6 separate regions of the Homo sapiens genome follow, and regions 1, 2, 3, 4 and 5 are each linked to region 6. The links are contacts of gene promoters, found by promoter capture Hi-C in human tissues and cell types (Jung and others, 2019). All regions are on one chromosome and are shown on one strand. The core of a region is centred on a gene start or on the middle of the fragment in contact, and the rest is flanking DNA. Distances in the headings are between cores, read along the strand shown. Region 1 overlaps PDE6D (phosphodiesterase 6D). Region 2 overlaps DIS3L2 (DIS3 like 3'-5' exoribonuclease 2). Region 3 overlaps DIS3L2 (DIS3 like 3'-5' exoribonuclease 2). Region 4 overlaps DIS3L2 (DIS3 like 3'-5' exoribonuclease 2). Region 5 overlaps DIS3L2 (DIS3 like 3'-5' exoribonuclease 2). Region 6 holds the start of DIS3L2 (DIS3 like 3'-5' exoribonuclease 2).

What was found. The method cuts DNA at HindIII sites, captures the fragments that hold promoters and counts their contacts. A contact is called where the count stands out against the background at its distance.
Region 1: a contact is called between a fragment that was not itself captured here and the fragment with the promoter of DIS3L2 in region 6, in 1 of the 25 tissues and cell types used here (spleen).
Region 2: a fragment that was not itself captured here is called in contact with the fragment with the promoter of DIS3L2 in region 6 in 1 of the 25 tissues and cell types used here (IMR-90 fibroblasts).
Region 3: a fragment that was not itself captured here is called in contact with the fragment with the promoter of DIS3L2 in region 6 in 4 of the 25 tissues and cell types used here (IMR-90 fibroblasts, liver, mesenchymal stem cells and 1 more).
Region 4: a fragment that was not itself captured here is called in contact with the fragment with the promoter of DIS3L2 in region 6 in 2 of the 25 tissues and cell types used here (IMR-90 fibroblasts and mesenchymal stem cells).
Region 5: a contact is called between a fragment that was not itself captured here and the fragment with the promoter of DIS3L2 in region 6, in 5 of the 25 tissues and cell types used here (IMR-90 fibroblasts, dorsolateral prefrontal cortex, liver and 2 more).

What each region holds. Positions count from the first base shown.
Region 1 is chr2:231,773,478-231,778,148 of GRCh38, reverse strand. All of the region lies in intron 1 of PDE6D (phosphodiesterase 6D), which reads left to right. Among named protein-coding and RNA genes, the nearest start is that of PDE6D, 5.5 kb to the left of the region's middle. The HindIII fragment of the contact is 7,341 bases long and covers 1-4,671 here.
Region 2 is chr2:232,124,803-232,129,396 of GRCh38, reverse strand. The region is part of intron 6 of DIS3L2 (DIS3 like 3'-5' exoribonuclease 2); the gene reads right to left. Among named protein-coding and RNA genes, the nearest start is that of MIR562, 46 kb to the left of the region's middle. The HindIII fragment of the contact is 8,059 bases long and covers 1-4,594 here.
Region 3 is chr2:232,181,664-232,186,134 of GRCh38, reverse strand. All of the region lies in intron 9 of DIS3L2 (DIS3 like 3'-5' exoribonuclease 2), which reads right to left. Among named protein-coding and RNA genes, the nearest start is that of MIR562, 11 kb to the right of the region's middle. The HindIII fragment of the contact is 3,458 bases long and covers 912-4,369 here.
Region 4 is chr2:232,099,675-232,104,512 of GRCh38, reverse strand. All of the region lies in intron 6 of DIS3L2 (DIS3 like 3'-5' exoribonuclease 2), which reads right to left. Among named protein-coding and RNA genes, the nearest start is that of MIR562, 71 kb to the left of the region's middle. The HindIII fragment of the contact is 5,354 bases long and covers 1-4,365 here.
Region 5 is chr2:232,159,998-232,164,913 of GRCh38, reverse strand. DIS3L2 (DIS3 like 3'-5' exoribonuclease 2) reads right to left here. Exons shown (of 21, transcript NM_152383.5): 9 at 1,282-1,455. Among named protein-coding and RNA genes, the nearest start is that of MIR562, 10 kb to the left of the region's middle. The HindIII fragment of the contact is 8,631 bases long and covers 1-4,916 here.
Region 6 is chr2:231,959,570-231,963,911 of GRCh38, reverse strand. DIS3L2 (DIS3 like 3'-5' exoribonuclease 2) reads right to left here and starts at 2,199. Exons shown (of 21, transcript NM_152383.5): 1 at 2,147-2,199. RefSeq lists a silencer at 1,942-2,101 and an enhancer at 2,232-2,321. The HindIII fragment of the contact is 18,963 bases long and covers 1-4,342 here.

The DNA.
Region 1 (4,671 bases), core at 895-3,394, 190 kb after region 6:
GATTACAGGTGCATGCCACCATGCCCAGCTAATTTTTGTATTTTTAATAGAGATGGGGTTTCACCATGTTGGCCAAGCTGTTCTCAAACACCTGACCTCATGATCTGCCTGCCTCTGCCTCCCAAAGTGCTGGGATTACAGGCATGAGCCACCGTGCCTGGCCTCAAATTTATTAATATTTGCCATCTGGCTTTTGCATTTTGTATCTTGTTTAAAAAGATCTTTCTTATCCCAAGATTAACTAAATATCCTATCTTTTCTTCTCTTTTCAATGTTTAGCTCTTTAATCCACCTGGAACGTATTTACACATTTGGTATGTGGTAGACATCTAAGTACTTCTGCTGTTTGGATAGCCAATAGTTCCAGTACTATTTACTAAGTAGTTAGTCCATCTTTTCCTCACTGTTTTGAAATGCCATCCTTGTCATATACTAAATTTTCATAAGACATAGGTTTTTTTTTGGATTATTTCTGTTTCATTGATCTATTTGTCTCTTCTTGTACCTATACACATTTGATTGAATTATTATAGCTTTATAATATGATTTAGTATAGTTTACAATAGAATGGTCTGTGACTAACATAATATGTGTGTTTAAGGTCCCTACAAATATGTGCCCCTTTTGTTCACATGGAAGCTTGCCCATATGCCCATAGTAGATAGAAACATGAGGACTTGGCTGGGCATGGTGACTCACACCTGTAATCCCAGCACTTTGGGAGGCCTAGGTGGGAGGATTGCTCAAGGCCAGGAGTTCAAGACCAACCTGGCCAACATAGCGAGACCCCCAACTCTAAAAAAAAAAAATTTAAAGATACTGCATAAAAGTGAATACTGTATGCATAAATTAGGCATGGTCTGAGTGAATTCAGTAGAAGCTTTGTATTTGCCATCAGTTGTTTCAAAAACAAAATCTTATAAGATTTTATTCTTGTATCACCTTCACCCCATCTCACCCTACCTCTTTCAGAGTATCTGTTTTTGTGAGAAGAGTTTATCACTACAAAAAGAGCACCATTATGATCTCCTGCCAACAGTGTTGATAGTACTCAGTTTTCCACGTTGACTAGGTCAATCTTTTTTATTTTTGCCAGTTTGGACAACACATTGTTTCGATTTGTATTTTCCTGGATCCCTAGATCCATACAAGGTAATATAGCATAGTGGTTAAGAGCTATACTGGACTGTGGCGCTATACTACCTCTCAAGAAATGCAAGGCTCTCATACACATTAAGAACCTTGCATTTCTTTCTTGTTTGTTAAAAGCATAACATTTCCTAATTGTAAATTAATGTTATGAATGAAATGTTACTTGGGGAACAATATGATTCTCCTGCAAATATTTTGGATTTGATTATTTTAAGCAGCTGACATAGAGATTGATGTTTGTAAATCCCACGTTTCCCATTTCGTTCCTTCAACAAAGGTCTGTTGGGTGACTATTATGTATAGGGCACTCTACACTTGAAGGATACAAAAATGAATAACTTACAGTCCCTTCTTTCCAGAAGCTTAACCAGCTTTATGTCTGTTTAGAAGGAATATCTTCAAAAGCAATGCATTTTTTAAAATTCTATTTAATTTTCCTATTACAAACGCCAGCCACCTAGAGTGACCTTTGTAAATATTATTTAATATAGCCTTCTAATGTAGCTAATGTTTAATGTGTTTTTTATAAAAATGGAATTGTAAATATCACTTTGTAACTTACTTTGTTCACTTAATAATAGATTTACCATGTTTATGATTTCCAAAGATAGTTACTTTCAGTTGCTTTCACTGACAGATTTGTCACAGTACTCTTTTTTTTTTTTTTTTTTTTTTGAGACGGAGTCTTGCTCTTGTCACCCCGGCTGGAGTGCAGTGATGTGATCTCAACTCACTGCAACCTCTACCTCCGGAGTTCAAGCGATTCTCCTGCCTCAGCCTCCCAAGTAGCTGGGATTACAGGCACCTGCCACCACGCCCGGCTAATTTTTGTATTTTTAGTAGAGAGGGGGTTTCGCCATGTTGGCCAGGCTGGTCTCGAACTCCTGACCTCAGGCCTCCCAAAGTGCTGGGATTACAGGCGTGAGCCACTGCACCTAGCATTTGTCACAGTACTCTTATACTAGCTTTCTAGTATAGTCTGTATCTACTGTTTTGCCTATTTGAATAGCTTTTTCATCAACATAAAAATATAACTTTATTAAATTAACAAGAAACTGACAGACTTCCATAAGAATGAATTATGCTTTTATGATTTCATTATCTTTAATCCATCTGAATTTTCTTTGGTATAAGATACAGAGTAGTAATGTAGCTTTTTTTTAATATTGGCTTATTGTCTCCATTTATTTATTTAATTCATTTATACGTCAGATATTATAATATCCAGAATATAAATGGCTGCCTACAAATCAATAGGATAAGCATTTAACTCAAAGTGGACAAAGGATATGAACAAGCAGTTCCTAGAAGAAAAAGCAGATGACCAATGAATAAATGAGGACATGCTCAACCTTGTTAAAATAATAGACTATCTTCCGGGTGCAGGGGCTCATGCCTGTAATCCCAGCACTTTGGGAGGCCAAGGTGGGTGGATTGCTTGAGCCTAGAAGTTTGAGACCAGCCTAGGCAACATGGCAAGACCCCGCCTCTACAAAAAAAAAAAAAAAACACACACAAAAATTAGCCAGGTGTGGTGGTGCATGCTTGTGGTCCCAGCTACTGGGAGGCTGAGGTGAGGGGATCACCTGAGCCTGGGAGGTGGAGGTCGCAGTGAGCCAAGACTGTGCCCCACTGCATTCCAACCAGGGTAACAGAGTGAGACCCTGTCAATAATAATAATAATGGACTATCTCTTCCCAATTAATTGACACAGATTTAAAAGATTGATAATATATATGTATATCCTGAAAGTGGCACTGTACGAAAATAAAATTAAAAATTAGGCCAGGCACAGTGGTTCACGCCTGTAATCCCAACACTTTGGGAGACCAAGGTGGGCAGATCACTTGAGGCCAAGAGTTTGAGACCAGCCTGCCCAACATAGCAAAACTCCCTCTCTATTAAAAATACAAAAAATTAGCCAAACTTGGTGGCACACGCCTGTAATCCCAGCTGCTCAAGAGGCAGAGGCAGGACAATTGCTTGAACCCAGGAGGCAGAGGTTGCAGTGAGCTGAGATCACACCACTGCACTCCAGCCTGGGCTACAGAGTGAGACTCTGTCTCAAAAAAAATAAAAATAAAAATTTATTAAAAAAAAAAAAGATGCCAGGCACAGTGGCTCATGCCTGTAATGCCAGCACTTTGGGAGGCCAAGGTGGGCGGATTACTTGAGGTCAGGGATTCGAGGCCAGCCTGGCCAACATGGTGAAACCCCGTCTCTACTAAAAATACAAAAATTAGCTGGGCATGGTGTGGACAGCTGTAATCCCAGCTATTATTAGGGTGCCTGAGGCAGAAGAATCACTTGAACCTGGGAGGCCAAGGTTGCAATGAGCCGAGATTGCACCACTGCACTCCAGCCTGGGTGACAGAGAGAGACTCAGTCTCAAAAAAAAAAAAAGATAATATTCAGTGTTCACAACATTGAGGGAAAGGGGCACTCTCATTTGGTTTATGTGTGTGTGTGTAGTGTCTGTAGAAAGTAATTGGTATCTATCAAATGTTTACACATTACTGCAGTAGAGTATATAGCACAGTGGTTGAGAGTATGGGCTCACTTCCAAGGTTTAGACTTACTGCCTCTGCTATTGTGACTCTCAACAGAACACTCAGACTCTGAGCCTCAGCATCTGTATCTCATATTATCAGAGGGTTGTTTTGAGAATTAAATGAAACTGCATAAAAGATGTTTGGTTCAGGGCCTGGCATATAGTAATATCTGCTGCCATTCATTTTATTAATAATTACTAATAATAATGACAGGCCAGGTATAGTGGTTCATGCCTGTAATCCCAGCTCTTTGGGAGGCCGAGGTGGGTGGATCACCTGAGTTTGGGCATTCAAGACCAGCCTGGCCAACATGGTGAAATCCCGTCTCTACTAAAAATACAAAATTAGTCAGGCGTAGTGGTGTGCACCTGTAATCCCAGCTACTCGGGAGGCTGAGGCAGGAGAATTGCTTGAACCCAGGAGGTGGAGGTTGCAGTGAGCCGAGATCACGCCAGTGCACTCCAGCCTGGGTAACAGAGTGAGACTCCATCTCAATAATAATAATAATAATAATGACAATAGTGTTAATATGATTGTAAAGCTACTTATTTCTCTGAGATATAACTAATGCCTTCATTCTAGTTATATTTTCTTACTGAAAAACTATCGTATTTCCATTTTGCCTCTGAATAAATGATTCAATAAGCATTGATATATACCTCATGTTTATCTTGTCTAGAAAATGAATCTCATTCTAATTTATGGCAGGTTAGCAAAAAGAGTTTGGGCTCAGAAGGTTTCTGAAAGCATCTTTCACTTGTTTTCTTACATTTCTTCTCCCATAGTTTGGTCCTGGAATCCCTGTATCTTCTTTCTCATAGTACCTTAATCCTTGACTTTGCTTCCAATCAAAAAACAGTTGGCTTTACATCTTCTATTTACTCACTTAGAATAAAGAATAAGAATAGTAGACATATTAAGAAAAGTCGACTGTAGAACTTCTCTTGAAAGTCAGTATTCCCTGGTA
Region 2 (4,594 bases), core at 207-2,706, 170 kb before region 6:
GAACATTTTTTATAATTGTAGAGAGAAAAAAAACCACACAAGTTGTTGATCTGTTTGTTCCATAACATACCTCACCAATGTGCTCTGCAGAACAAAGTAACTGAGGAAAAAAATCAAAGCGTGGAATTACCATGAATAAGTATCCTCTACTTAGATATTTGACAACTAGTTTGGTCTCAAATGCTACCAATCAAGACACTGCAGTGAGAGGACTGGGTTTCCAAGGCAGCCTAAATCCTGGGCAAACAGCTTTCTGTGATGATCACTGATGGCTCCATCTTCAAATGACTGTTACCTCAGATTCCATCCCAACAACAGCAAGTCGGCTGTTCAAAATGTTATACCAAATTACATCTTAAGAGAGAGGGCAAGCCATAGAAGTGGGCCCAATCATGATTTTCTATCAGACCTGAACATGACCTTTTCAGGTTCTATATTCAGAAGGATATCCTGGCAGAAATGAGGCTTTGTTCAGACAAAGTTACATTCTAATAAATTAAACCAAGGTTTAAAGCCTTACAGGTGAGAATCACAGATAACAGTCAATGGATATAAAGAAACACAATGCCAGGTTGAAAAGGTGAATCACCTTAATACATTTCCAACAACCATGTCTTGCCACACTGAATAGTAAAGTTGTCGGCTGGTCTTGGGTGGCTCATGCCTGTAATCCCAGTGCTTTGGGAGGCCAGGGCAGAAGGATCACTAGAGCTTTGGAGTTCAAGACCAGCCTGGGCAACACGGCGAAACTCTGTCTCTACTAAAAATATAAAATTTAGTTGGGCATGGTAGTGCTCGCCTATAGTCCCAGCTACTCAGGAGGCTGAGGTGGGAAGATCACCTGAGCCTGGGAATTCAAGGCTGCAGTGAGCCAAGATTGCACCACTGCACTCCAGCCTGCAAGAACCTGTCTCTCCAAAAAAAAAAAAAAAAAAAAAAAAAAAATTAGCAAAGTTGTCAATTTAATGAGACTCTACTACATTGTTTAATCACAAGATCAGTTATTATTCATTTATTCCATGTGTATTTATTGAACACATTAATGCACTGAAGATCCAGTGTTAAAAGAAATATGATCCCAGCCCTATAGACTAATGTGGGAATATCATATAAATAATCACTCAATAAATATAAAATTATAGGGTGGGCATGTTGGCTCACGCCTGTAATCCCAGCACTTCAGGAGGCTGAAGTGGGAGGATCACTTCAACCCAGGAGTTCAAGATCAGCCTGGGCAACATGGCAAAACCCTGTCTCTACAAAAAATACAAAAAAAAAATCCACCAGGTGTGATGGTGTACACCTGTGGTCCCAGCTACCTGAGAGGTTCACGTGGGAGGATCACTTGAGCCCAGGAAGTGGAGGCTGCAGTGAATCAGGATCGTGCCACCGCACTCCAGCCTTGGCGACGCAGTGAGCCCCTGTCTCAAAAAAAATAAAAACTGTAATAAATGCTAAGAAGGAAAGAATAATCCCAAAAAGAAGGGGGAAAGGACATATGATTTAGATTAGAGATCAGGGAAAGAATTTAAATTGAGACATAAGGACAGTGTATACAGGAGTGAAGAGGAGAATGAGAGACCCAAGATAGGAATGGCACACAGGAAAGGGTAAAGGCAGGAAGTTCTTCACACAATCAAGGACCAGAACAAAGACCATGAGGCATGGCTGGAGCACAGTGAGCAAGAATGGGCATGGCTAGAGATGAGAATGAGAGGTAGATAGGTGCCAAGTCAGGTGTGGGCCTTGCAGAACATAAGAAGCCAGAATTTAAGTACAACGGCAAGATGGGTAAGGATTCTGTGCAAGACAGCAACATTGCCCAGGGCAAGATAAGAGCAGGCTAAGAGTGGGTGTAGGGAGACCAGTTAAAAGCTACTGCAATAGTCAAGGCATGAGAGGCTGGAGCTGTGATGCAGGCATTGGAGATGGAATTAAGATATATTTTGGAGTTGAATAGTCTTGGTGATAATTACATATGAGAGCTTAAGGATTATCAGCTAAGAGAAGTCAAGGATTATTTCCAGCTTTCTGACACTAGCAATTAGGTTGATAGTGGCATCACTTATGGCACAGGAAAGACAAGAGGAAGGGGTAAAGATCAATAATTCTATTTCGGAGGTGGTTCTATTTGATAGGTCACATATGAGACTTTTAAGTGAAGAAACTGAGTAAGCAATTCAAAATGAAGGTCTGGAACTCAGAAAACAGACCTGGGCTGTAGCTTTACAAACAGTTTATATGCTGAGAAACTTTCCAGCCCAAGCTGGAGAGAGGATATTGAAATGCAAGTCCATGCAACCCCTAAATCCATGAAACTCTTCCAGTGCACCACACTGCTATACACAAAAGTAAGGGATAATGTTCTGTCACTGTTAATGAAGAAAATTCACTGAGGAAGTGAGTTGAGCCTTGAAGGATATATAGATATAGATGTTCCAAAGAGAAATAAGGAAGTTGAAGGCCACTCCAGACAAAGGCCAGAACTTGTGAAAGACCTAGATCTGTGAGTGGACCTGCCATGGTAAAGGCCCAGTAAAAGATTTACTGTAGCTATTAACAGGTTGGGGACACAGTGCTGGGTAGGGAGGAACTAGAATAGGGGGGAAATAACGCTGGTAGAATGGCCCTGTGGGAGGGACTAGTCACTGCCCAATTATCCAGCCTCTTCTTTCCTAGTAAAAAGAACTCCAATTTTTAGCTGGGCATACTGCCACCTAGTTAAAAGGCCACATCCCTCAGCCACATCCCTGCATGTCTACATTTTAGGCAACAAGATTCTGGGGAAAGTGTGTTGTTAGTGACTTCCAGGAGTAACCTTACAAGGCAGAGGCCCAGCCTTCTCTCTCTTCTCAATCCTGCGGGCTGGAATGTGGATTTGATAGCTGGACCTTGATCGCTCATCCTGGTCCTGGAGGCCAGAGGTCAAGGGTGTTTTCTACTCTGCAGAGCAGTACAACAGAATGAGCTGAAGACTGTGGAGCTATCCTACAAGTCTTGGCCTGCCTGTCTCTGATCTTCTTCTACGTGAGATAGAAATTAACTTCTTTCTTGTTTAAGCCACTGATATTTTAGGATTTAATGCTATTCTCTACGGAATATACTTTCTAACATACAGGCCCAGACAATGAAACTGACAAGCTAGGACACTATCCTATAAAGCATTATAAATGCCAGGGCAATTCTTCTCTTAAGAGCTATATATCACACATGTATTTTAGAGCTATGAATTTGATAGAACCCTGGAATGAAGAGACAATGGTAGCAGAGATCTTAGAAAGCTGAGGTTAGAATCTAGGTGAGACACAATCAGAACCCAAATTAAGATAATGGCAGTGATTTAAGTCCAAAGCTGACAAATCCAAGCTTGTTCAATCTCTGAATGGAGGGCCACAGAAATTTACAATTTCCAAAGAGTTCAATGAAAAGAATGCAGTATGTATTTGTAAATGAAAATATGTCCCTTCTGGATCTCTCAAAACCAACTAGGAAAACTTATCTTATGGGCCCCCCTCTCTTCAGTGAAATGTAGAAATGAAAACACAAGTCCTCACAGGGGCAAGGTAACATACACTGTGAATAATCATTTGTGATGCTGCAAGCTTGCTGGGCTAACGAGTGCTTATGATCATTCTAGGACCCCACATCTAGCTCCTGTCAAGGCAAGACTTGGGAGGGACAGTCTTCAGGAGCACCAATAAGCTCCTTTCTTCACAAAATCCCTAGGCCTAAGCAAATTTCACTCTGATATAGAGCTAATGAAAATGTATGATGCCAAAGAATTTTCACAGCATGCTCGCCTATATTACCTCTTTTAACTTACAACTTATACTATGGGTAAAGTGGGTACTGTTATTCCAGCTTCACTGAGGAAAGAGGAGTAGTGAAGAGGGGGAGCCAGTGAATGACAGCATGCAGGATGCTGGTGTTGACAGTGGTGACCTGTTCTCCACACTAGCAAGAACTGGGCACTATGAAAAGAGCCATGAAAACCTGTATCAAGATATTATTTAAATGGCATGGGACCTCCTGAAATGCTGGAGTCAACCCAGTGAGCATCCTGAATATTGATGGAGTATCAAGCTCTGTCCTCAGGGAGCTCGCTCCTATGTTGGAAGGGAGACAAAAATGCAAACAAATTTTGAAAGCACATGCTGTTCATGACTGCTGGCAAGCAGTGTGCCTAAGGGCAATGAGATGGGAGCCCCGCAGTTTGACAGAGCGGCTAAACTCTTGAGTTGAGAATGGAAAGGCTGAGTAGGAAATAGCTAGGTGAATGGGACGAGGGAGCATTTTAGAAAGGGAGAAGAGAGCGTGCAAAGGCACACAAGCAAGAGTAAACTGAGTAGGAGGAAAGCCGTGTGTGTATAAATGAGGTGTAGGGACCAGACCATGAAACGCCTCATATGACATTCTGAAGAGTATCTATTTTATATTTTAGTGATGGAAAACCATTGCAAATTCTGAGAATAATATGATCAGAATTATATTTAATGAGAAATGGTTAAATTATATTTAATGAGAAAAGGTTATCCTGGTCAGTCTAGTGCTCCTTTGAAGACAAACTTTTTTTTCTCCAGCTGCTTTTTTCTCT
Region 3 (4,471 bases), core at 1,391-3,890, 220 kb before region 6:
TTTTGGCTGGGAATGGTGGCTCACGCCTATAATCCCAGCACTTTGGGAGGCTGAGGCAGGTGGACTGCTTGAGTCCAGGAGTTCAAGAACAGCCTGGGCAACATAGTGAGATCCTGTCTCTTTTAAAAATTAAGTCAAAGTTTTAAAAAAAAAGAACCAGCTTTTTGTTTCACCAATTTTCTCTACCGTTTTCCAATTTCCAATTTTATTGACTTAAGTGCTTATCTTTATATTTTCTTCCTTCCTGCTTACTTTGGGCATATCGTGCTTTTTTTTTTTTTTTTTGAGACGAAGTCTCACTCTGTTGCCCAGACTGGAGTGCAGTGGCACAATCTTGGCTCACTGCAACCTCTACCTCCCAGGTTCAAGCAATTCTCCTGCTTTACCCTCCTGAGTAGCTGGGACTACTGGCACAAGCCACCACACTCAGCTAATTTTGGGGTTTTTTGTTTTTATTTTTTTAGTAGAGACGAGGTTTCACCATGTTGGTCAGGCAGGTCTCTAACTCCTGGCCTCAAGTGATCCACCCGCCTAGGCCTTCCAAAGTGCTGGGATTACAGGCATAAGCCACCATGCCCAGCCTTGCTCTTCTTTATCTAAATTCCTAAGGTAAAAACATAGCTCACTGCTGAGATCTTTTTTCTTTTTAATGTAAGCACTTGGAGCTATAAATTTTCCTCGGTACTGCTTTAGCGACATCTCACATATTTTAATATGTTGTGCTTTCATTTTCATTCAGTTCTACATATTTTTTAAAAATTTCCTTTAAGATTTCCTCTTTAACCAGTGAATTATTTATAAGTGTGTTGTTTAATTTCCAAGTGTCTAGATATTTTACTATTGTCCTGTTATGGATTTCTAGTTTGTAGTTCCATATGGTCAGAAAACATACCCTATATGACTTCATTTTCACATGAGCTGAAGTTTGTTTGATGACTCAAGATATGGTCTATCTTGGTGAATATTCCATGATCACTTTATTTGGGTCTGGATGCCATGTACTGAGTTAGCACCTAGAAACAGAAAAGTAACACCCAGTCCTTGCTCTTGATGAGAACTTTGCTACCCATCAGAGAGACAGAGTCATATTTAAGTAAATTAGGTACATTATGGCAAGTGAGCAGACTGCCTCGGGAGAACAGAGAAGGGCAAGGCTAATTCTTCTAGAGTGAGAAGACAAAAAATTCACAGCATTCAAGACGGGCCCTGGAAAATGGATGAAGTACAATGCAAGGCATAGGTAAGACAGAGAACTATGACAGAGCAAGACTGAGGAAAGATGAAGGGCTGAAAGCAGAACAGGATATTGTATAAGAAGCTAAGAAATTTATTTTCCTCTTTTCCTATTATCAACAGAGTTGACCATTTCATTTTTGACCTGCCCTAATACGAATGTCAGGCTACCCAACACTACTAATCTTAGGAATAATTTGCCCACACAATTACTGACTACTATATGCTTCTTTTCTTTTTCTTTCTTTTTTTGAGATAGTGTCTTGTTCTGTTTCCCAGGCTGGAGTGCAGTGGCGCGATCACAGCTCACTGCACCCTCAACCTCCTGGGCTCAAGTGATTATCTCACCTCAGCCTCCCTAGTAGTGGGACTACAGGCACATGCCACCACGCCCAGCTAATTTTTGTAATTTTTGTACAGATGGGGTTTTGCTGTGTTGCCCAGGCTAGTCTGGAACTCCTGGACTCAATCAATCCACCCAAAGTACTGGACCTCCCAAAGTACTGGGATTACAGGTATGAGCCACGCACCCGACCTTATTTTCAAATTCTATCTTCCTTTCACTCTTTCTGTTATTTTCCCAGGAAAGCTTGTAGCTTTTCTGCAGGACACTGTCTTCTTTTATCTCCAACTCAAGCAATAAAAGTGAAAAGACTTGAGAGTCACATCAGTGGGACTCGCAAAGTAGAGGCCTCCTCTGAAAAGCTACTACTTCATATAAGTAACAACAACACTGGACAAAACTGTCAAAATCAAATTTAGTGTAACTCTGGAAATTAACCACAGGCTTTTAACAATCTGAGATGCAATTACTCAAGAAAAATGGCTAAATATCAACAAGGACACTGAACTTTGTAAAGTTTTACTTACAAAGTTTACTTTCCATATTCCCACATCCCCCTTTCCAGCTCTATCTCTCTCTCCAGCCTTAAAATCAACAGCATTGTAATCGTGGTGAAAACCAGTGGCCTAGCAGTCACTGGAGTGGCAAGAACAGGTTTACAGCACCCTAAAAACAGCATCACAGGAGAAATGTCATTATTTGACCTATCCAGCAGTTCCCTGAAAACCCCCATTTACCGGGTTTGCTTAATTTGACCTTCATCAAACCTTGTTCACTGCAAACAGCCTTATAGCCCCAGGGGTGTTCATCAAAAACATTCAGCAGTATTTATTTAACATGGCAGCTATCTGAGATGGTGATAACAGTGAGCTAAAGTACTGGTCAACAAGAACTGACCAAAAACATTAAAAGGAAAAGCTGGAGAATGAGGCATCTATAAAGGGCTGTGAAAAGGTCTGACACATTCCTGGGGATAAAGATGGTCACACTCATGCATAGGGCTGTGCACATGCCCAAGAAAGACTTAAGAAGGGTCTTACACTCTTACTTCTGGCTGACCCTGAAGCTCTGCAACAGCAGGAAGTGAAGGCTATGGCAGAGTTGTAAAGTGCATGCCTAAGCATTAAAGGTATTAGTCGACACAGAGCCTCTTAACAAACGCTAAGAGACTTACTGTTTTCAAATATTTAAGGAAATCTCTGTTTATTCATTAGGTGACCACTAAGCTAGCCAAGCAGAGATTTCAGTAGCTTCAAATAACAAAGAATACAAACTGTCTCTGTTTGTTTGAGTTGCTATAACAAAATACTATAAATTGGGTAGCTTATAACGTTTATTTCTCACAGTTTTGGAGAGTGGAAAGTCCAAGATCAAGAAACTAGCAGAATCAATATCTGATGAAGGCCCACTTCCTCATGAATGGCACCTTTTTACTATGTTCTCACATGGTGAAAGGGGTGAGGTTTCTTTCTCATGCTTCTTTTTATAAGGGCACTAATCCCGTTCATGAGGGCTCTACCCTTGACTTAACTGCCTTCCTAAACTATAATTTGGGGGTTAGAGTTTCAACCTACGAACTTAGAGGGAACACAGACATTCAGATCACAGCATAGACTCAAAAGACTTAGTTCAAAAAAGTCAGAAAATGAACAGCAGAAAGAACAAACAGCAATAACAGCAAACCTTGGAAATGAAGGGAGGCAAGATGATTTCCAGAGCTGCCACATTATATTACTATTTAATAGTATTTAATTGTATGTGTGTGTGTGCCTGTGTGTGTATGCATGTGCAGGTGTCATGCAAACAGTAACAAAAGAGAGCTGGAGTAGCCAAACTAATAGCAGACAAAATAGAATTCAAGGCAAAAAGTGTTACTAAAGACAAAGGATAATATTTTATAACAATGATAGGCTCAATCCATCTAGAAAATGAAACAATTATAAACACACATGCATCTAACAACAAAGCCACAAAATACACAAAGCAAAAAATGGCAGAACTTAAGGGAGAAATGTAGAATTCAACTGTAATATATATCAATACACAACATCCAGTAACAGAGATAAAAAATAAACAAAAGATAAACAAGAAAATAGAAAGCTTAAACAAAACTATAAATCAATTAGATCTAACAGATATCTACAGAACACTCACTCCATCCAACAACAGCAGAAAACATATTCTTCTAAAGTGGATATGGAACATTCTCCACACCATATAACAAGTTTCAATAAATATACAAGGACTAAAATCATGCAAAGTATGTTCTCTGACCAAAATAGAATGGAATTAGAAATTAATAGCATAAAGAAATTAGAGAAATTCACAAGTATGTAGAAATTAAACAACCTACTCCTAAATAAAAAATACGTCAAAGAAGAAATCTCAAAGGAAATTTTAAAATATTTAGATATAAATGAAAACAAAATACAACCTATGAAAATTTATGGGATGTAGCTAAAGCAATCAGGGAAGTAGGGAGGGAGTAGCTGTAAATGCCTTTATAAAAAGTACAGTGGCTAATGCCTGTAATCCAGGAGCTCGAGACCACCCTAGGTGACATGATGAAACCTCACTTCTACAAATAAATACAAAAATTAGCCAGGCGCCCGGGCACGGTGGCTCACGCCTGTAATCCCAGCACTTTGGGAGGCTGAGGTGGGCAGATCACCTGAGGTCAGGCGCTCGAGACCAACCTGGCCAACATGGTGAAACCCCATCATTACTAAAAAACAAACAAACAAACAAACAAAAATTAGCTGGGTGTGATGATGCACGCCTGTATCCCAGCTATCTGGAGGTTGACACAGGAGAATCACTTGAACCCAGGAGGTGGAGGTTGCAGTGAGCTGAGATCGCACCACTGCACTCCAGCATGAGTGACAGAGTGAGACA
Region 4 (4,838 bases), core at 439-2,938, 140 kb before region 6:
GGTAGTGGTTGCACAACACAGAAAATGTAATTAATGACATTGAATTGTACACTTAAAAATTGCTAAAATGGCAAATTTTTTTTTACCACAATAAAAAACAAATTTAACCCACAAAAGTTTCTGTGTGTTATAGAGACTCCAGGGCAGGGGACAGTTTGATAAACAATACCTGCTGCGTCAGGGAGGGAAAGCCAGGTGGCAGGAAAAGAGAACAGGTAGGCCCTCGTCCTCTGACAGTCTCTTAAAAGAACTCTCAGAATCCAGGAGTTACTCAAGGAATTAATTTGACAGTAATGACTCATGAAACTGCATTTCCAGTTCACAGACCTCTATCATGAACTTCAGTCTGTATTTCTAATTAAATATGACCATCTCACATTTACCATATCTAAAAGAAATTCCTTGGTAATAAAAACAGTAGAAATTATTTATAATAAACAAAAATGGCAGAAATCTATTTCCATTAAAAATTAAACAGATTAAGTCACTAGCTAGTGTTAAAAAAAGGTGGTGGGGGGGGACCTGAAAGGGGTTATGATCACAGATACAGATGAAACTAAACAACTGAAAATACTTCATATAGCTCTATTCTAATACATTACAGTATGTGCTCAAAATGTATTATTTTCCTGGAAAATATAATTATCAAAATACATGCAAAGAAAATTTAAAGAAATCAATAATCACCGGAGATTGAGAAAGTTGCCAACTAAAGAAAGCTCTAGCCCATGTTTCAAGTATGAGTTCTTCAATTGCTTCAATCATTGAGAATATGTGATCACTCTCAACGCTATTGTAACTATTCCAAGGCAATGAGAAAAGCTCCCCAATTCTTCCTACCAAGTTACGAAAACAAGAAGAAACTGCAGACTAATGTCACTTTTTATTGTAAATCCAAAAATCATGAATAAATTAGCAAACACAACTGAATTACATGTTAATGCATGCTACATACCATGACTAAATGAAGGTCATGGTCAGATGAGGAATGCAAGAATTATTCAATATTATATGTCATCATGTTAACAAGCCAAAGGGAAAAACAGCATCTTGAAAGAGGCTCAAAAGGCACTTGAGGAGAATTCAATATCTATTCCCAACAGAAACTTTTAATATAAAAGAGGACATTTGGTTAACTTGGTCTCAAGCCAATAACCAGCATTGTGCTTGAGGGTTTAATATTGGAAGCATTCCCATTAAAGTCTGGAACAAGACAATCACCACTATTATGCAACACAGTTCTTAAAGTAATGGCCAATGAAATAAGGTAATAAATAAAAGGTACAAAATTAGAAAGGAAAAGACAAAATTATTTTACACCTAGAAAATCAAAACAACCAACTACAAAATTATTAGAAATAATCAGAACATTCAAGCAAATGAACGTTTCACTTTTACAAAAGTCATTCTGTTTGACTTTTACAGGAGGTTCATAAAAACAATCATGTTTACAAAATTACTTGAAGGCTTCATTAATTTTCACAAGAATTTCTCTTAATCCACTGTTAACTCAAATAAGTTAAAAATCTTTACTCAAGATTTTTATTTTACTACCACCTTGTGTGACACACTGGCATTTTTAATGGGAAATAAAATTGTGACTGGCCGAATAAAAGTAATTTTTAGAAAAAAGACCCAGCTGAAAACAGCAGTCCTGACTATATTTGTATTGAATAAGCAATTATTATTTTATGCTTTAGAGTTACTTCAGGGCCAAAGATGGGATGAGCAATGCCAGCTCTTGAAATCCACACCGAACTGTAGAACATAGCAATTTTTCTCTTTCACCCAATGTTTTATTTTAAAGATTTTTAAATTTACTAAAAAGCTGAAACAGTGATATTATGAACACCTATTGATTCACCAATTAACATATTGCTACATTTGCACCCATTCTCTCTTGATTTGTATATGCACGTGTGTTTGCACACACACACAACCACATAGTTTCGTTTCTTCTTTTTTCTGAACCATTCAAAATAAATTAAAGACATCAGGATACTTCACCCCAACCATGTTAGCCAGTATCTCCTAAAAATAAGGACATTCTCCTATATCTCTGCAATATCATTATCGCACCTAAGAAAATTAATGGTAATTCCAAAATGTCACCTAATATCCACTCTAAATTTAAATCTCCCCAATTGTTGCTACCATATTATTTCCCCAACCCAGGTTCTAACCAAGCTTCACACAATATTTTTAGTTATGTCTCTCTTGCTTTTTGTTTCACTAGAACAACTCCCCTTGCTTTTCATGGCATTGGATTTAATCTTATTATTTCTCCCTTGGTGTCATTTAACTTATTCCAATATCCCCTGTATTTCCAGTAGACTGGAAGTTAGGGCTAGAGGCTTGATTCCGGTGAAACATTTTTAGCATGAATGCTTCACAGACAATGATATTCAATAATGCATCCCATCAGAAGGTACAAAATGTCAGACTATCCCAATTAATGATGCTAAGCTTGATCAGTTGGTTAAACTGGTGACCACCAAATATGTCCACTATAAAAGGACATTCTGCCCAGTGTAATTAATTAGTAAGTCAACTGTGGCATGATACTTTGAGTCCATGTGAATATCTTGGTCCCCAAAACCTTTATCTCAATAGTTTTAGTATCCAGCAATGATTCTTGATTGAATTATTAAACTCAGGGTTAGAGAACTATGAATGTTTAACCTGTATTGTATATATTGCTATTTATTAGGGGAGAAAGAATGTAATAGTTGGGAGGACAAGCCTAGGGCTGATTCTACAGCAGCAATGCTGAGTATGTAGCAGAATCCTTGAATCTCTAAAGAGCTCTTTCAAAATACCAATGCTTAGCCCTATTCCAGATCAATTAGAATGATCTTAAAGTATACTTACCAACTGCATAACTTTTCTGCATCTTGGGAATAAAAACTACTGGAATTCCTGAGATAGATACTATTTATATTCCTAAAATAGACACTATACTAGGTATGTTCTAAGGATTAACTAATGTAATGAGAATTAATTACAAAGTGCTTAGAAAGGGCCTAGCACATTGTAAATGTTCACTAAATACTGATGATAAATATGGGTACAAATAGTTATCCACATATATGGATATGCATGTATACAAAAAATACATCTAGGTATATTCTAGCATACACATATGTATATAACAACACAACTTCAAAATATATCAAGCTACAATTGACAAGACTGTAGGAAATACAAATAAATCAAAATGTAAGAAATACAAATACATCAAAATTTACAGACACAGATTTTTAAATGGAAGGTATATCTTTTTTTTTTTTTTCACTCTATCACCCAGGCTGGAGTGCAGTGGTATGAATCTTGGCTCACTGCAACCTCTGCCTCCCGGGTTCAAGTGATTCTCCTGCCTCAGCCTCCTGAGTAGCTAGGGCAACAGGGGTGCACCACCACGCCTAATTTTTGTATTTTTAGTAGAGACGGGGTTTCACCACGTTGTCCAGGCTGGTCTCAAACTCCTGACCTCAACTGATCCGCCCACCTCGGCCTCCCAAAGTGCTGGCATTACAGGCGTGAGCCACCACACCCAGCCCCCAGACATAAATTTTTAAAGATCCCTCTCAGAAACTGACAGATAAAGTACACACAATAATAAACAGCTTACTATGAAGGGAAGAACAATATAATTATAAATCAAATTTGTGGAGATATATATACACACACACACACACACACACACACCTTTCTTTCAAAGCATATGTGTAATATTTAAAAATATAGACAATATAATAAACTATAATGGAACTATCCATAAACTATAAAGAATTAAATATACAGACATCCTATACTCTGACAATAAAATTAAACATTAACAAAAAATAGCAAAATACAGAATTAAATAGCCTTAATAAATAACCTAGTTACAAAAGAAATCACAAAGAAAAGAAAACATTTAAAAGTGAATAATAATAAAAACACTGGACATAAAAATCTGTAGAATAGAGCTAAAGAAGTATTTAGAGGTACATATGTAGCTTTAAAAACAGTTCAAAGAAAACAAGAAAAGTTAAAATTAATAAGCTAAGTACTCAACTCAAGAATTTGGGGAAAGGGCAAAAAAGCAACATCCCTGGAAAATAAGAAATTAAATTAAAAAGTTAAGGGCAAATATCAAAGATACACAAAACATCAACAATAGAGGAAAAAAAAGGCCAGGTGTGGTGGCTCACGCCTGTAATCCCAACCCTTTGGAAGGCCAAGGTGGGCAGATCACTTCAGGTCAGGAGTTCGAGACCAGCCTGGCCAACATGGTGAAACCTTGGCTCTACCACAAAAAAAAAAAAAAAAAAAAAATATTAGCAGGGCATGGTGGCAGGCACCTGTAATCCCAGCTAGTCAGGAGGCTGAGGCAGGGCCCAGCAGGCAGAGGTTGCAGTGAGCCGAGATCACGCAATTGCACTCCAGCCTGGGCAACAGAGCAAGACTGTCTCAAAAAATAAAAATAAAAAATAGAGAAAAATAACACAACCAAAATTGTTCTTTGAAAAGATTAATAAGATAAGACCCTTGATGAGCAAGAGTTATCAAAGAAAAAAGAAGATTCAAATAATTAAAATATAGAATGAAAAGGAATACAAAAGTACAGACACAAAGGAGATTTTTGAAATGATAACAGAATATAACGAGCATTAGGAATATCTACATGCTAATAAAGTTGAATGGATAAATTCCCATTAAATTATGCCAAAACTGGCACAAGAACTGATAGAGAATCTGAACAGACCAATTAGTATAATAGGGATTAAAACAGCAAAGATCTTGCCTTCTGAAAAACAGCAGGTACAATTTTACAATGAGTTCTACCAAATTTC
Region 5 (4,916 bases), core at 1,854-4,353, 200 kb before region 6:
ACCTCAGAAAACAAACCCCTCAATTTGTATATGAGAAAACAAAGGTTCAGAGAGGTTAATGTTATGGGCCCAAGACCTCGGAGCCCCTGAAGAGATAACACACCCATGTGCTAGCAGGGGTTCAGTGATAGAGGGGTTATTATGAAAATCCAGCAATGCAATATGGGTTAACTGACTTCAAATGTAATATGTGTTCTATGAGAGATACTAACAAGTAGGAAAGGGGACTAATGATCATCTCCTTTTCCTTGCCTAACCTCAATAAGAAAAGAAAAAGGCAGTAAATTACTAAAAGATACAATAGTAAGAAGGTACAGAGAGGGAGTATTCACAAACTAGGTGGGTAACAGGCACCCAGAGCTGAAGGTGTCATAAGTTCAGCTGCATGAAGCGAGCAAGTGTGGTGGAAAAGACTTTGACATGGGATGACCTTAGCAAAAACCTTCCACAGCCTCAGTGGGTTGTATGAAAAGTTTCTTGGTTCTAAATATCTCCATGTGGCATCCAAAATGAGTGCCAGTACTGAAACCAAATTCTGAAGAGAAATATCAGAAAAGAACTAACATCCCACAATGAAGAAACATCTTCAAAGAAGATGTTGTTATAAAAATACCACGAAAGTACTTTCCAACAAATTCCAGACCTAAAAGTAAGGCTTTAAAATGAGGCTCCAAGTACAGAAGTCTTGAATCCTTTGCTCTGTGCCTGAAGAGGCCCATTTAAAGGAAGGCACTTCTCACTAGATAACAGTCTGTACTTGACCAGATCTATGGCAATGAGAAGATAGGCACTGTAGCTTTTGAAGTTAGAATGGTCTAGAACAGGGATCAGTAAACTTTTTCTGTAAAAGGCTGACAGTAACTACTTTTGGCTTTGCAGGCCATATGGTCTTGGTTGCAACTAATCAACTGGGCTGTTGTAGGGCAAAAAACAGCCATAAGCAACATAGATAATGAATAAGCATGGCCATGTTCCAATGCAACTTTATGGTCGCAGAAATCTGAATTTCATATAATTTTCATAAAACATTATTCTTGTTTTAATTTTTTCCAACCATTTAAAAATGTAAAAACCATTCTTAGCTCATGGGTTGTACATAAACAGGTAGTAGGCTAGATTTAGCCTGTGGGCCATAATTTGCCAACTGTGGTACAGAAGCACCTATTCCCAACTGAACTGAACTTGAATGTTCGTGGAAAGATGAAAACATCTAAGCCTAGCCCCTAGGAAAGTTAAGGCAGAAAGGGAGATATACGTTCTTAAAGGGTTTCAGGTGCTTACCTTAAATCCCTTCTCTTGCTGAACTCCTCTGGTGGAATTGTCCATGGCAGGCCTTGAGGAAGACATTCTAGAACTTCTGAAGAGAAATCAGAGAAATCCACGCCATACTCTGTTAGTATTCCTTCTGTTTCAGGCTCAATTTCACCAGCCTGCCCAAGACTCTTAGCCAGCTGCCTATGGATAGAACAGAAACGGAATAACTGGGTTAGCAAACAAATGGAACATAGGTACCTGTCTCCTCTCTAAAAGTAAAGTAGTGGGAAAGTTTAAAATCTCCTGCCCTTCCACCAGTAGAAACATGATCATCCGTAAATCACTGGCAATGGGAAAGCAGAAGACACAGTAATGCTCTTCTCCTGTTAAATCGGTAACTACAGTGTAATTTCACCTTTTTTTATTTGACATTCTGACTTGAGAAACAGAGCCAGAAGGCTTTCCTTAGGACCCCTCCAATTGTTCTTCACAGAGAAGTCAAAATTGATATTATGATCAATCCAGTGTGCTATTAAATCATTAGTTTCAGAGTGCCTGTACGTTAAGTCATGCTTACTAGATTAATTCTGATGTTCCTATTTCACAACTCTACCAGTTTTTAATCTTTAAAATTTTAAAATATTTTATCTAAACACAAAAGTAATATACGTTCATTGCAAAGAAGTTAGAAAACACAAAATCCACTGAGAAGAAAATTAAAATTATCCATAAACCAGTCACCCATGCACATTTTAGGGCACTGGCCCATTAAAAATAAAATTGCATTTAACAGGACAATGCTAACATTATGAACAGGGTTCCACCTTTCAGAAGGCAGATCTCACTCCTTACCAAATTGACAGCTCTCTATTCTCATAAGCATTGTCATGCCACATACAGATCACAAGTCTAAATTTGTGCGTTGAATACAGGCAGCCAACAGGAAATGTGTTATGGGCCTTGGCTGCCTTTGTAGAGGGTATTGCGGAGACCAAAAATGGCCATCTCCTCTGTTGTACAAGTCTACTTATCTACCAGGGTGCTCCAAGAGTCCGCCCTCAGCACTTTCTGCAAGAAATTTAGCTATGGCATCAGGACATTCTCTCAGGCTATTCGATTTCTATGAAAAAGGTTCTGTTTCCTAAATAAGGGTAGATGCTTGGCTGCTGGAGTTCTTATGTGCACAGTGGTAAAGAGGAATAGGGGAGGTGGTTGCCTCATAAGCAGACTTTTAACAAATTCCAATCTTCAGCCTTGCCACTGGAATGCAGCAGTGATGGCAGCAGGGCTGGCCCCATTTCTCACACTAGTCAAGAGAGACCAGCCCAGTCTACTTGTGCACCCGCCCACCAGCCTATGATCTCGGCAGCCTGCAGACTGACCTGTGGGCTCCTCCCATATGATGTGGACTCAGAAGAGTACTTTCTCCACAAATGGGTGGTCTCTCCCATAAAACACATCAAAAAGCCAGACAGCAAAAATATGAGAGAAAAATTAACAGAAAGCAATCTGGAAAATCCCCAAATATGTGGAAATCCAACAACCCATAGGTTAAAGAAGAAATAAAAAAAGAATTAGAAAATATTTTGGACCAGGTGCAGTGGCTCACGCCTGTAATCCTAGCACTTTGGGAGGCTGAGGCAGGCGGATCACAAGGTCAGGAGATCGAGACCATCCTGGCCAACATGGTGAAACCCCGTCTCTATCAAAAATACAAAAATTAGCTGGGCGTGGTGATGCGTGCCTATAATCCCAGCTACTCAGGAGACTGAAGCAGGAGAATCCCTTGAACCAGAGAGTCAGAGGTTGCGGTGAGCCGAGATCATGCCAGTGCACTCCAACCTGGTGACAGAGTGAGACTGTCTCCAAAAAAAAAAAAATTGAACTGGGGTCAGGCACGGTGGCTCACATCTGTAATCCCATCACTTTGGGAGGCCAAGGCGGGTGGATCACTTGAGGCTAGGAGTTTGAGACCAGCCTGGCCAACGTGGTGAAACCCCGTTTCTACTAAAAATACAAAACTTAGCTGGGTGTGGTGGTACACACCTGTAATTCCAGCTATTCGGGTGGCTGAGGCAAAGGAATCACTTAAATCCAGGAAATGGAGGTTGCAGCGAGCCAAGATGGCATTACTGCACTGCAGGCTGGGCGACAGAGCGAGATGCTATCTCAAAAAAGAAAGGAAAGGAAGTAATGGAGAGAGGGAGGAAGGGAATTTTGAATTGAATGAAAACATAACATGTCAACATTTGTGAGAAGTAGCTAAAATAGTGGTTGGAGGGTAATTTACAGCATTAAATGCTCACATCGGAAAGGAAGAAAAGTGTCAAATCAGTGATCTAAGCTTCTACGTTAAAAAACTGAAGAACAAATTAGATTCCAGGTAAGGAGAAGGACAGAAATAATGAAGAAACAAGAATCAATGAATAGAAAATGAACAAATAGGCTGGGCGCGGTGGCTCACGCCTGTAATCCCAGCACTTTGGGAGGCCAAGGCAGGAGGATCATGAGGTCAAGAGATTGAGACCATCCTGGTCAACATGGTGAAACCCCGTCTCCACTAAAAATACAAAAATTAGCTGGGCGTGATGGTGCATGCCCGCAGTCCCAGCTACTCTGGAGGCTTAGACAGGAGAAACGCTTGAACCCGGGAGGCGGAGGTTGCGGTGAGCCGAGATCACGCCACTGTACTCCAGCCTGGGCAACAGAGTGAGAGTCTGTCTCAAAAAAACAAACAAACAAACAAACAAAAATGAATGAATAATGAAAACAAATCAATAAAACAAAAAACTAATTCTATTTTTTAGACAGGGTCTCACTCTGTCACCCAGGCAGAAGTGCAGTGGCACAATCATGGCCCACTGCAGCCTCGACTTCCCAGGCTCAAGCAATACTCCCACCTCAGCCTCCTGAGTAGCTGAGGCCCATCTAATTTTTGTATTTTTTGTAGAGATGGGGTTTTGCCACGTCGCCCAGGCTGGGACTCGAACTCCTGAGCTCAAGCAATCTGCCCACCTCGGCCTCCCAAAGTGCTGGGATTACAGCTTTGAGCCACCACACCTGGCTCAAAAGCTAATTCTTTGAAAAGAGAAAAACAGATAAATTTCTAGCCTGACTGATCAAGAAAAACAAGGAGGGAAAAACACAAATTACCAATATCAAGAATGAGAGAGGAGACACCATTTTACATCCCACAAGCATTAAAAGGATAAGGGAATAATGAATGACTTTAAGACAATAAATTCAACATCTTGGATGAAATGGGCAAATTCCTTGAAAGATGCAAACTGCCTAGGATAATTAAAATAAATTGATACTTGAATATTCCTATTTAATCTACCTATTATCTATTTTATCTAATGTATCTATTAAAGAAACTGAATTCACAGTTTGAAACCTTCCCACATAGAAAACTCCAGACCCAGATGGCTTCACTGGTGAATTCTACCAAGTATTTAAGAAAGAATTATTGCCAATTCTACATAAACTCTTCTAGAATAAAGAGGTAGATGGCATACTTTCCAACTAGTTTAATGAAGACAGCAGTACCTTGATATCAAAACCAAAGGATTAATGAGATCAATACCTCTCATAGACTTAAAATTCTTACAAAGGTATATCAGTTATTGAAAAAGAAAATTTAAAACTTCTTACAAGGTCAT
Region 6 (4,342 bases), core at 950-3,449:
CCACATCTCCATAAAAAATACAAAAATTAGCCGAACGTGGTAGTGCGCACCTGTAGTCTCAGCTACTCGGGAGGCTGAGGTGGGAGGATCACTTGAGCCTGGGAAATCGAGGCTGCAGTGAGCTGCAGTCACGCTACTGCACTCCAGCCTGGGTGACAGTGAGACCCTGTCTCAAAATAAAATAAAAGACCTCAAGCTATAAAAATCCTAGAAGAAAACCCAGGAAATACACTTCTTGACACTGACCTTGGCAAATTTTTGGCTAAGTCCCCATAAGCAACTGCAGCAAAAACAAAAATTGACAAGTTGGAACTAATTAAACTAGAGCTTCTGCACAGCAAAAGAAATTATCAACAGATTAAACAGACAACCTACAAAATGGGCGAGAATATTCACAAACTATGCATCTGACAAAGGTCCAATATCCAGAATCCCTATGGAACTTAAATCAACAAGCAAAAAACAAATAAGCCCATTTTTAAAAATGGCCAAAGGACATGAACACTTCTCAGAAGAAATACAAAAAGAAAAAACCACGACATACAAGCAGCCAACAAATATATGGAAAACATGATCATGACTAATTATCAGAGAAATGCCAATCAAAACCACAATGAAATACCATCTCACACCAGTCAGAATGGCTATTATCAAAAAGTCAAAAAACAACAGATCCTCATTAGGCTCCCTTGGAAAGGGAACATTTAAACTACTGTTGGTGGGAATGTAAATTAGTTCAGCCACTGTGGAAAGCAGTTTGGAGATTTCTCAAAGAACTTAAAGAGCCACCATTTCACCCAGCAATCCCACTGTTGGGTATATAACCAAAGGAAAACAGACCATTATACCAAAAAGACATATGCAGTTGTATGTTCACGGCTGAGCTATTCACAATAGCAAACACACGGAATCAACCTAGGTGACCATCAATGGTGGACTGGAAAAAAAAAATGTGGATGTACAGGATGGAATACTATGCAGCCACAAAAAAGGAAGATATCATGTCCTTTACAGCAGCACAGATGGAGCTGGAGGCCATAATCCTAAACGAATTAGCACAAGAACAGAAAACTAAACACCACACGTTCTCACTTATAAGTGGGAGCTAAACATTGAGCACACTTACAAGTGGGAGTAGAAACATTGAGCGCACATGGACATAAACATGGGAACAGTCGGCCGGGTGCGGTGGCTCACGCCTGTAATCCTAGCACTTTGGGAGGCCAAGGCGGGCGGATCACGAGGTCAAGAGATCGAGACCATCCTGACTAACATGGTGAAACCCCGTCTCTACTAAAAATACAAAAAAATTAGCCGGGCGGGGTGGCGGGCGCCTGTAGTCCCAGCTACTCGGGAGGCTGAGGCAGAAGAATGGCATGAACCCAGGAGGCGGAGCTTGCAGTGAGCCGAATCGCGCCACTGCACTCCAGCCTGGGCGACAGAATGAGACTCCGTCTCAAAAAAAAAAAAAAAAGGTAACGGTAGACACTGTAGACTACTGGAAGGAGGGGAGAGATGGGGGATGTGGGTTGAAAAACTACCTACTGGGTTCTATGCTCAATACCTGGGTGCAATATACCCATGTGACTAACCTGCATGCGTATCCCCCATATCTAAAAGTTTATTAAAAAAAAAAACTCTCTATGATCAATAAAGGAGATAAAGTGTATCACTGTGGAAAGCGCAAACGTCAAGGACATGTTATAATTAAGCGGCTGCCCTTCAAGATTCCCGAGGCTCCCCATCCCTGCCAGTCCTGAACATCTCGATCAAGACCCTAGAGAACGCGTCCACAGGTGACCCGAGCCTCGGGAGGCGTCCTCTCTACAGCAACAGGCTCTAATTCTGGTCTCGCTCCCCTCACGCCATCCTAGGCTACAAGGGCCCCGGCGCTATAAGCGCGGCCTGGGAGGCCGGGTCGGTCAGGAGCGGAGAGTGGGGAGCTGGGGACATTGAGGGAGATGCGGGACAGGGAAGACGCGTGGGCCGGGGAGCAACGCCAGAGGCGGAAGACGCTCGTCCCGGGCCGCCACCACAGGTGCCGGGCGAAGCGCCGCGGAGCCCCCCAGAGGCCAGACCCCGGGTCGGTCCCGAGGGGGTCGTGCAGCACTAGGCGGTGCAGGGGGCAGGCGAGTGAGGGCCTCACCGTTTCTCCCCGGAGGCCGGCGCCGCCGCAGTCCCGCAGTTGCTAAGGAGAATGCTCTTCCGGGTCACGGGCGCGGCGTTCTAGAGAGCGACGGTGGCCGGGCGAGGCCGAGAGCGAAGCGCGCGGGGTGTGTGCGCGGTGCAGGAGCTCGTAGTCGGCGGTTCAGCTGCGACAAGGGCGAAATGGCCAGGCCAGGGGCCGCCGCGCCTTCTCCGGCCTCGCTCGCGGGGACAACTGGCTGCAACGGTTGGCTCCCAGTGGGCGGCCTCTGAGACGCCTTGTGCCAGGCGCCGGCTGGCTCCGGGCCCCTCTTCCACCGGAAGGAGCCTTCCAGACCCGGCTCCTGAACCTCCAGGCTCTGCTCCACTGGGCCAGGTCTTGCACGGCAGACGCCGCCGGCCCCTTTCCTGTTACAAGGCTTTGCTCATTCTTTCATTTACTCACTGCTCATTTATTGGACAACTGCTTGGGGCGAGGTGCAGTGCTGGCACTGGGGATACAGAGATGGACAACCCCCGCATGGTCCCTGCCCTCAGGATGTGAGGCTGATGGCAGAGCAAGCAGATGACGTCCTGCACGTGGGGATGATCGAAGGAAAGGAGACTAGGGGAGCCTGCCCAAGGGGCCCACCCAGACACGGGTGGGGAGCAGCTGATGTTGGAGACGTCGACCTAGTATAAAGGGTTGGGAAGAGGGTTTCAGGTGAGAGAGGAAGCGCAGCCGAGAAAGCCCCCGACAGTTCAGCCCGCCCAGGGAAGCGTGTTGAGAGGAAACAATCGTTAAGTACGGGACCTAGGAAACACCAATATTGTAGATGTGAGCAAAGGAAAAGGAAATCCAAAGAGCAGCCAGAACGTTCGGGAGAGCACAAGAGGAAAGAATGCCAGTGAGGGGATGGCCGCCATTCTCAAGCTATGGAGATCAAGTGTCCATTGGTGACCATAGAAAAATCAAACTTCCCTTTGGGAGGCCGAGGCGGGCGGATCACCTGAGGTCGGGAGTTCGAGACCAGCCTGATCAACATGGAGAAACCCCGTCCCTATTAAAAATAATAAATTAGCCAGACGTGGTGGCACATGCCTGTAATCCCAGCTACTCAGGAGGCTGAGGCTGGTGAATCGCTTTAACCCCGGAGGCGGAGGTTGCAGTGAGCCGAGATCGCACCATTGCACTCCAGAAAAAAAAAAAGAGAGAGGGAAGGAAAGACGGGAGGGCAGGGCAGGGTAGGGATCAAACTTCGGGAATACAATGTGGACAGATGCTTGAACCACCGTATGCTCCATATTGAAAAAGGAAAAGAGATGCATTAAATTGTGCCTATATTTCTCTTTTTTTTTTTTTTTTTTTTTTTGAGACGGACTATCGCTCTGTCGCCCAGGCTGGAGTGCAATGGTGCGATCTCGGCTCACTGCAACCTCCGCCTCCTGGGTTCAAGCAGTTCTCCTGCCTCAGTCCCGAGTAGCTGGGACTACAGGCGCGTGCCACCACTCTCGGCTAATTTTTGTATTTTTAGTAGAGACGGGGTTTCACCGTGTTAGCCAGGATGGTCTCACTCTTCCGCCCATCTTGTCCCAAAGTGCTGGGATTACAGGTGTGAGTCACCGCACCCGGCCAGTGCGTTGCAGTAGTCTAAGAAAATTCAGGGTTTCCCTTAGTAACTATGAGCTCCATGAAGGTGGAAAACTTTGCATCTGCAGTACCTGCCACACACACAGGCCTCAATCGATGTTTGCTTAAAGACTAAATGAACCCAAGGAACCTTTGTTTTTTAATGTTCACACAGACCTTTCTAGAACCCTCAGGAAAACTGTGATTTCAGCAAAACTTGTCTTTGAAATGTAGAGGGTAGAGGAAACCCAGCAAGGACAGGAGGCAGAGGGTGTCAGGCATCCAGGGATTCAGTGGATAGGAGAGGGGCCAGTGGGGACAGGAAGGGGAAGACCTAGAAGAGGAAGAGAACAAAGGATTGAAATAAAATCTGTGGCCGGATGCAGTGGCTCATGACTATAATCCCAGCACTTTGGGAGGCCAAGGCGGGCTGATCACTTGAGGTCAGGAGTTCGAGACCAGCCTGGCCAACATGGTGAAAACCTGTCTCTACTAAAAATACAAAAAATTAGCCAGGCATGGTGGTGGGGGCCTGTAGCCTCAGCTACTCGGGAGGCTGAGGCAGGAGAACTGCTTGAACCTGGGAGG